Regions from separate parts of the Homo sapiens genome. Here region 2 is linked to region 1. The links are contacts of gene promoters, found by promoter capture Hi-C in human tissues and cell types (Jung and others, 2019). All regions are on one chromosome and are shown on one strand. The core of a region is centred on a gene start or on the middle of the fragment in contact, and the rest is flanking DNA. Distances in the headings are between cores, read along the strand shown.

Evidence for each region. Contacts are between HindIII fragments. The study calls those that stand out against the background at their distance.
Region 2: a fragment that was not itself captured here is called in contact with the fragment with the promoter of SIM1 in region 1 in 1 of the 25 tissues and cell types used here (dorsolateral prefrontal cortex).

What each region holds. Positions count from the first base shown.
Region 1 is chr6:100,462,594-100,467,523 of GRCh38, forward strand. SIM1 (SIM bHLH transcription factor 1) reads right to left here and starts at 2,328. Exons shown (of 12, transcript NM_005068.3): 1 at 2,021-2,328; 2 at 701-1,342. The coding sequence starts at 875. The HindIII fragment of the contact is 4,452 bases long and covers 242-4,693 here.
Region 2 is chr6:99,410,777-99,415,073 of GRCh38, forward strand. It overlaps PNISR (PNN interacting serine and arginine rich protein), which reads right to left. Exons shown (of 12, transcript NM_032870.4): 3 at 3,796-3,914; 4 at 1,775-1,963; 5 at 1-188. The coding sequence starts at 3,883. Among named protein-coding and RNA genes, the nearest start is that of PNISR-AS1, 12 kb to the right of the region's middle. The HindIII fragment of the contact is 4,631 bases long and covers 85-4,297 here.

The DNA.
Region 1 (4,930 bases), core at 1,078-3,577:
AAGATATTTTCTAAGCGGGCTAGCCATCTTAATTCAATCTTATGTATTTTAGGACTAGCCTATTATCTTACAGATAACATCAAGCCCACAGTTGCAAATCATCAAGCTCCAGAGTTAGTTTCAGAATCTGCGAATGTCTTGAAAACTCGGAATAAATTTGCTTAGAATTTATTTAAGAACTTGAGTAAATTCAGGCATACTTGTTCACAAATATGCATGTTACTCATTTGCAAATCTTTAGATATATAGAGAAATTATTATCTGGCCTATCTAGCTCCAGGTACATGGGTCTATCCACACCTGGCAAAAAAAAAATACAGAATTAGGCGGTGCTCCTGGTTTTTACTGGACAAAATTCTAACAAGAGGAGTAAAAAAGAAAGTCATGTTTGGATTAGTAGTACTTTCAATTGAGCCTAGTATCTGAAGTGTTGACAAAAGGACTGTTGGGCTGCTTCCCAACCAAACATATCTGATGGACTGAAGAGAAAGTATTGATGGGGAGGTAGAGGGAGCCTCAAAAAAGCGACAGAAATTCTGAGTTCAGTGAGGACCTTAGTGAAGCAGCCGAGCTAAACTTCCCTTTGCAAAATATATATGTAAATATGTATGCATTTCTCTGGTCACTGATGTCGGCTCATTGCCTGGCAAATCCCCGGCCCCTTCTGCCTTTGAAATTCCATCTGGGCAAAGTCACTTACCTTCTGGGAACACCACTCTCATTTTGAGATAGCTGGTCGTGAGTCTGATTATGGATGCTTTGTCCAGCTGCGAGGTGATAGCCGAGGGCAAAGGCAGTAATTTAGCCAGTTCATAAAATTCACTGTTTTCCTTCTCCCTCCTAGTCCGCGCAGCATTTTTGGACTTTTCTTTCATTGTGTCTTGTTCCCCCTTTCTTCTCACAACTTAAGCTCCGCAGATTCATCCAAAACCAAAAATAAACTTTCAATTAGAGATCATATTTGGCAAAAACATAAAACATACTTTGAATAAAGAGGCTGAAGTATTTGCACCAAGAACAGTGTATTGATGGCAGTAAAAGACCAGCGGGGGTGAACGGAAAATATGTTCTTTGAAAATTCGGGATGCAGTATAGGAAAGTTGCTGATCCACCGAATTTGGGCGATCCACCGAATTTGGGCAATCCTGAGGGTCGTTCAGGGTATCAAATGCCAGTGGGACCCCTGAGGAGCCAGCCTTTTCTTCTACTGCCAGCTGCGAACCCTGGTCCTCGGAAAATCGACATAATAATCCCTGACGTTTGCTCTTCAGTCTCGCGGCATTTAAGGTATCTCCGAGCCCCTTTGGGAAGAGCAGGAACCCCAGACAACTCTTTCAAGGCCCTGTGAAGACAACAGCATCAGAGCATAAGAGATCAGCGGCTCCACAAGTACTCACACACTCGTCCCAATTCCAAAAACACGGCCGGAAAGGGCCTCAGTGCGCCTAGCCAGGCGTTTTGGGTTTGTTTTTAAAGAAACGGGTAAATCGGCAGCGAGACAGCCCCCTGCAAATAATGCTGGCATTCCCTCACCCATGCCAGCCGCATCCTCCAGACCCCTGGGAAGTTGCCCAAACAACAAAATACATATTTCTGAAGACCCGCAAGGGATCTTCCGCCGCGGATCCCCGAGTCCGCGCCCAGGCCGGGCGCACGTCCCAGGAAAGCAGGTTTCCGCAAATCAGAATTCCTCCAAGGCGAGGCAGGGGCCTTTCAGCTCCCTACCTTGGCAGATCTGGACCTTGGCTACCTCTTTAACTTGGGTCTCAAGTCTGAGGGATTCCTCAAAAAGTGACACTTACACACCAAGTCTCTCGGGACTCCCAAGGCGACCCAGCGCTCTGGCTGCCCAGCAGGGGCTGCAACAAGCGGGGCCCAGCAGCGCCAGGTTAACAGGTGGCGCGCTCGCGACAGCCCCTCGCAGGCTCCCCCGGGGGTGGGAGGCGCCGCGGCCTCTCCCACACCACCGCGGAGCTGCGGGGCTGCTGGGCGGGCGCGGGGCGTCTTCTGCTTCACCTACCTTCAGTCCCCACAAGCGGCAGAGGTTTCGGGGGCGCCCATCTCTTAACTGTTCTCATGCCTACCGTCCAACCCAGCGACACCGCCGGCCTCTCCGCTTCCCACCGGCAGAGAGGAGCAGAGCATTCCCGGCTCCCTTTTCTGGATCATGAATTGGAGGAGGGGTGCGTGGCAGAAAGAGGAGGATGCAAGCTTTGGGACGAGTGAGGTGATTTTAGAATCCTGGTCCTCCGTAGTTGCTACGAAGCCAGTTCACTATTATTCCTAATTGGAAGCCGAAAACTGCCCCCCGTAACTTCTTTATAGCTTAAGGGTTTAGCTTCAACTTCACTCCGGGGCCGCCTCTCTCCCGCCCTCCCTCAATGCCACTCACAAGCCCCCTCGCCTCCCATTGGCCTGGCGCGGCCAGGGGCGAGGCGCTCATTGGCCAATAGGGCTGAGTGACACGAGTCGGCCCCGAGCCGCCCTCCGCGCGCCCAGGCTCCGGGCTCTGAATCTTACTACCCGCGGGACCGCTGGACTCCTAATGAGCTCAGGGTGCCGGGTCGGCGCTGTCCGGTTGCCGCCGCTGCTCGCGGCCTCCTGGGCCTTCCCGACGTCGTGCGCGACCCGCGCTCCTCGAGCTCCCTGGGGTCGGGTGGTTGAGCGCTCAGTCCAGCGCGGCGGCCCAGCAGAACCGGGAACGTCCGGAGGCAGCGGAGGTCGGGCCTGCGGGTTAGGTCTACCGGCGGAGGAGGCAGGGTTCGCCCAAAGGCCCATCCCGCTGGCAGTCGCTGGCCGACGGCGTGCGCGAGGCCGGTTTGGGGAGTTATTTTCTCTTTCTCGTTTCTCTGAAACCATGGCGACACGGAATTCATTGCCAGAGGAAATAAATACAATAACTGTCTTTAAATTAATCCCAAAGAAGTGCGTCTTTTTCGAAATGGCTTGGGTTTGGGGCTGATTTTTTTCACCGTGGAAACTCGGCCGGGGAGTTTTCCTATGGGGAGCAGCTAGGGGGACACTAGGGGAAAAGCTTACATTTCAGGGCAAAATAGAATGATTGATATAGAGATACATAGCTCCCAACAGTCCTTTATCTTAAACATTAGCCAACTCTTTGTCGGGTTTTGTTTCAGGAAACAAAAGTCCAACATGATTATTCCTTACAGAAAGGATACAGTCTACATGAATGAACTTAACGATGCTCGCGGTTCCCTAATAGGAGCTGTTTAAACAAACGCTCACCAGGACTCTTGCTGACTAATTATCTTTTAGAGACCCTCTAATTTGAACCGCCTTCTCTTTCTCTCATCTGAGAAAACACAACAGGTAGCATCAAGAAAAAGTCAAATTGTCCCAAAAACAATTGTTGTCCTCACGAATCACCCCCTACAGACTCGACTCCCGGCTTGGTTTTGGTACGCCGGTGACCAGATTCGGCTCCTAGAGGTGCGTTTGGAGGGAGTTGTTTCATCTACCATAAAAATCAGTGAGAACACCAGTGACGGGGCACTCATCCTCTCGTTTGTGGCGCTAATTGCCACTGAGAAAATAAATACTTTGAAGAGGGGTGTGTGCCATTCTGCTGATATTCAGAACAACTTTAAGAGTGTTTGTTCAAAAATACAGACATCTGCCACCTCCTTGCCGCCCGATGGCAGTAAGATAGTCGTAGAAGGACAACAGCAGCTTTCTGGTGTTATTTACATATCTGGGCAACACCTGGCTGGAGGAGGTGAAAGTTTTGGATAGAAAGAAAAAGAAAGAAGCACGGAGATTTTGTAGGTCTTTCAAAACTGGAATCCAGCTAATGGACTCTAATCTAGGAGGAGTCATTTCCCCAGTGGCTGTAGCCACTTAGAGATCTGGTTCTGGGCGCCTTCCAACCACCCAATGATGCGCTTTTAACAAGACATAGCTAGAAGATAGCGAGAGATGCACTGTGGCTCACTTATACACAAGATTCCAGAAAGATCAGATAAGGTCAAGTTGGCTACTACATGTAAAGTCGGGGGTGGAGGGTGCGTGTGGAGAGGGGAAATAACCTTTCTTGACCCTCCTCTCCCCTCCAACCAGGTCACATATAGCTGCCAGGCGAAGCAATGACACTTAGGGTTAAGAGGAGGTTTTCCATTCGACTGTGTTCTAGAGAGGATTTCAGTCAAGACCGCGGTTACTCTAACCCTATCTCTACTTAAAACAACATGCCGGTGTGGAAGTGCCTCTCTGGGGTTTGAAACCTGTGTCCACAGCAGGGACTTCCGGGGGGTGGAGGTAGGGAGTCAGGTAATGCTGGGTTTCCAGAAGAAAAAATGCAGTAATTTTGCCTTCAGAAGCAAGATGGGCAAAATGAGTAAGGAAGTCTTCACGCTTAAGGCTGACGTCCTGGGGGGCTGGGCGGGCTGTTCCAATGTCCCAGTGAAGCTCAGTTGTCAATGAGCCAAGTAGATGTCGTTTAATAAACAAAGTGAATGCACGACCACGAGGTGACGGCCTCTCGCTAAGTCCTCAGCACACAACTGTCTGAGCCGCGTTTACCGAGAGAGTGAATTAGCATGACGACGTAACACCTGTTTTTCTAATCTTTGAACCTAGGTTGGAGCCGGAACGCTGCTCCTTCACTCCCCCTCCCGGGCCCAGGGACCTGGCTTTGCACCCTCCCCACGACCCCGCCTGCCAGCCCCCCACGCGCCCTGTAGCCGGAGGCGTGAACCGTGAACCGGAACCTCAGGTGCCTCCCACGTGTTCTGCGAATTTACGTTCGCCTCTAGCACGGGAAATTTTAAATGAATTTCTTGAAGCTCAGAGACTAATCGTTTTGCCAATATAAGGAGAAAAGCCCCAGAAAGGAAGAGACGGTCACGGGCGACCCACTAACCCCAAATAGAGATCCTTATAGAGTCTAGGCCGCCACCTCCTTGAGCCGGTG
Region 2 (4,297 bases), core at 1,150-3,649, 1.1 Mb before region 1:
ATTATCGGGTGGTCCACCAAAGTTGTGATTGTTCTGGTTAAATATATGCCTGTTGTCAGGGGCAAATTCCCCACTGTCCTGACTGTTGCTGTCTTCAGAAGGAGGAACAATGTCCATTGGGCCTGGTGTTGGTGGCATCCATGGCTGATCTGGAGGGGGGTGTGGGGGTTGCTGATGCATTCCCCATTCTATTTAAGATTTAGGCATAAAAACATTCAACAGGCGGTTATAACAAAATCAACACAGAATTTTAAGATCTCAAGAAAGATTTTTCAGTAAACATACAGATTTAAAAAACAACTTATGACTTCTTGGTCAAATTCCTTTTGTTTATCTTAAAAATAAGCAATGAACTAAACTGTCATATATAATTCAAAATGAGCTAACTCCACTCTAATTCATATCCTAACCAAATGCCCAAAGTTATTTTTAACAAATGTAACAAAATCCAAAGCACTATTTTTGTTGAATTTTTATATTTGTTTAGTAACAACACCACAAAAATAATACCTTGAGGTTTTATATAATTTCTTTCTTACACGAACACATTTATCCTCACAACATCCCTGTGAGGTAGGGAGAAATTAGGTATTATTTTTGCCAATTTCGGGAGGGAAAATCGAGGCACACAGAGGTAAATCACTTGCCCAGGGTCACAAAGTAGAGTAAAACTAAGGGGTAGGGATGCCCGCGGGAGTCATTTAAGAACTTAAACTTAGGAACTAAAACATTTTCAAATGTGGGGAAATTTCACTTTCAAGAAAGCTAGAAATGAACCACCTCACAGTATCAAAGACTAGAATATTTATGTTTTTAAAAGTAATCTGAATTCTCGTTTTTTTTGTTTGTTTGTTTTAAATGAGGGACTCATTCTGTCACCCAGGCTGGAGTGCAGTGGCGTGATCACAGCTCATTGCAGTCTCAATCCCCTAGGCTCAAGCAATCCTCCCACCTCAGCCTCCCAAGTAGCTGGGACTACAGGCATGCGCCTCTATGCCTGACTAAGTTTTAAGGTTTTTTTTTTTTTTTTTTTTGTAGAGACAGGGCCTTGCTATGTTGCCCAGGCTGGTCTCGACTGAGGTCTCCATTCTTATAAGGAGAAACAAAAAGTATTAATAGGGAAAGGAGGTTATGACTTCACCATCAGCATACCCAAATGAGAGGCTGATTCCTCCATAGTTTCAAGTGACTATTAAAAAGGAATAACACAAGCCATGGAAGACTGAATTAGCATCAAGAAATCTACATCATACTGTGAAATAAAACAAACAAAAAAGTAAAACACACAAAAACTTATGAAAGATCTTCACTATCTGAAAAAAAAAAAGGGAAGAAAAAGGTAGGCGGATGGTAGGGGCAGAGTATATTTGACAGACTAATTTGTCACACAGTGACACAATTTTTCTTTAATTAGAGGCTAGACATGTTTTACTCTGCCAGTGCTGCTTCTGAAAAGGCCAGAGGTTGCAATAGAGAGACAAAGAATGCTCTCTTCCCTAGATGCCAAGTGAGGTTTCCAGAGTGTTCCCAGCCCCTGTCAGCCTAGGAATGAAGAACCAAGAAAAGAATCAAACTGAGTGCCACAAAGCTAGCAGAATGAGTACAGAATAATTTTAACCACAAAATGTCAAAGTCAAATCAAATTGAAAACTGCCTATTCTTTAAGAAGCATTAATTTCCAGAAGTCATACAACTAAGCAAATTAAAAAATTTAATAATAATCTTCATTCTGTTTTTTAAAAGTCTTAAAATTGTGAAAACATAAACAACAAACCTGGTTGCCACATTCTGTTGAAGTTTGAATCCCCTTGGAAATTCCCATGATTGTTTGGACCAGATTCCATTGTAGACATATCTTGTCCATTTGGCATCATTCCTGGTGGTTGTTCTACCATGCTTTGCTGTCCTGAAGCTTCTCTTTGGGCAATCCAAGCTTGGGCCAATGCAGCCCAATCAATCTGGCCTAACGTAAATTAACACTGACTTCAGCATTCAGAATGTAGGAGTTAAAAGAATAGTGCCTCTATGTAAAATAAGCAGCTCAACTATTCCTTAGATCTTAAATATTTCAGACAGAGAGGGTATGAGGGAAATTAGAAAAATTTTTTTTGAATGAGATCTTAAATATTAAAGCATACTGTGTCTGAAAGGGTACTTAGCAAATAACCCATATTCAGGCTAAAAAATAATATAAACTACTTACACTTTCAGGAAAGAACTCCACAAAAAACACTCTTAACCCATTTCTAATATTAATTCATATAAAATTTATCCCCTGCATCTTAGTTTACTGAATTTTTAAATGTCATCACCTTTACAAAAAAAAAATCACCACAAAAATAATCAAACGCTATCATTTCTTCCTTCAACATGTCCTATTTATCTTTCCAGGCCTGCATTCGAGCCTATAGGCCTTTGATGAGAGCAGCTACCTAACTCTGTTTTTCCTTATGGTTGCCCTTCTTTAAATAAGGCTCCCTTCTCTAGCCAAAACATGACTAGTGTAGTCTGGCTACAACTTCTTAGCCAGTCTTTACTCAAAATTCATTTCCCCACTATCTTGAAGACTCTCTTCCCAAGATACATTTTTTTAATTTCTAAATTTTTACGTATCTATCCATCCATCCATCCATCCATCCATCCATCCATCCATCCATCCATTCATCCATGATCCATCCATCCATCCATGTAGAGTCTGGGTTATGAGCCTGGCTAATTTTTGCATTTTTGGTAGCGATGGGGTTTCATCATGTTGCCCCGGCTGGCCTCAAACTCCTGAGCTCAAGCGATTTGCCCACCTCAGCTTCCCAAAGTGCTAGAACTACAGGCATGAACCACCGCACCTGGCCTCTCTTCCCAAGCATCTACATTTAACATTTCAAGATCTTTTTAATAATTTTTATTTTGCAAGTCCACCCAAAAATGCATTAAGATCTAATATTAATAAAGTAAACAAAGTAGAATAAGATATGTTTTTCTGCATCTTACTTTAATGAAGATTAAATAGGTATTCTCAGTTTGAAACACTGGCATAACCCCTATGGGGTTACACATGGCAATGTGCACCTGAAATTACCGTGACTTAACAAACCTAGCTCTTTTAATAAGAAAATAATTGGACAAGTGAATAACAATATGTACACAAGATTATGCTAATTGTTTCAAAAAGTGAAAAACTTTAAATAACAAAACACCCAAAAGTGGCTTTGTTAAATTATGGTACAATCCTACAATAGAATGATACATGGCTATTAAAAAAAGAAATAGCATCAGATCAATCCAGTGAGGGCAGAGCAACGTAAGTGGTCTTACGGATGAAACAAAATTGGCCACTAGTTAACAATTGTTAAAGCTAAATAATAAACAAGGGCTCCCTATACTCTTCTACCTTTGTATGTGTGCCTGAAATAGTCCACAGCAAAAAGAAATTTTAAAATGATATAGCACACCATCCAGTTCAATATAATATACAACTTTAAGAGTCAGAATTCACAGAAGTGTTCTCCATAAGCAACATATTTTAGGCTTTTCTCTTTCTTTAGAAAAACAAGGACTAAATCAGTTTAAAAAATGTAAAATCTTCAAAAAGCTTTCTACATTTTGAGAGTCTTCCAAAGGGAAGTCCATTTCCTGCTATATATGCTATGGCAAGGCTATTTATGAGAAGATTAAATTCTGACCATAAAATGATCCAGTACACCAATCTCAATTCCATATCCCTTAATCCCATCATGTGTCTTCTACCCATTTCCACATATCCAACCCCGCCCTTTCAAATTCAATTTGTTTCCTTACTTGGATCCTGTTGGTGCTGGAATGACTGCATCCATTGTTGCTGGTTCAAGGGCCACTGCTGCCAAGGCTGTCCTCCTTGATCCCACATCCCTTCTTTTAAAATATACTTGATTTTCTATCTTCAATAAATTAAACATAGTTTAAAAATTATAGTGAGTTATTTAATCTTAAAACCTCACATCAGAAATTATTATATGATGATACATTTATTTCATCAGAGGTCTAAAATTCTTGTCAATAGCTTGCCAGAGGCAACTAGAATTTTTAGGGTACCAAACGAGGTAGAAAATTTTATGTTAATGCTGGTCTCAGAATTTGGTGGCAAGCATAACACAATGAATTTAGCTCAAAAAAGACTTTAAAAAAAACTCTATTTTTTGTACAATATAAATTTCTGGATATGTAATTATTTTGAAGATTGTAGGAAAAAAGTGATTTCATTTCTCCCCAATCAAGATTCCTTTAAGATAGTAACCAAATAGCTTCAGCAGATGAAGAAAAA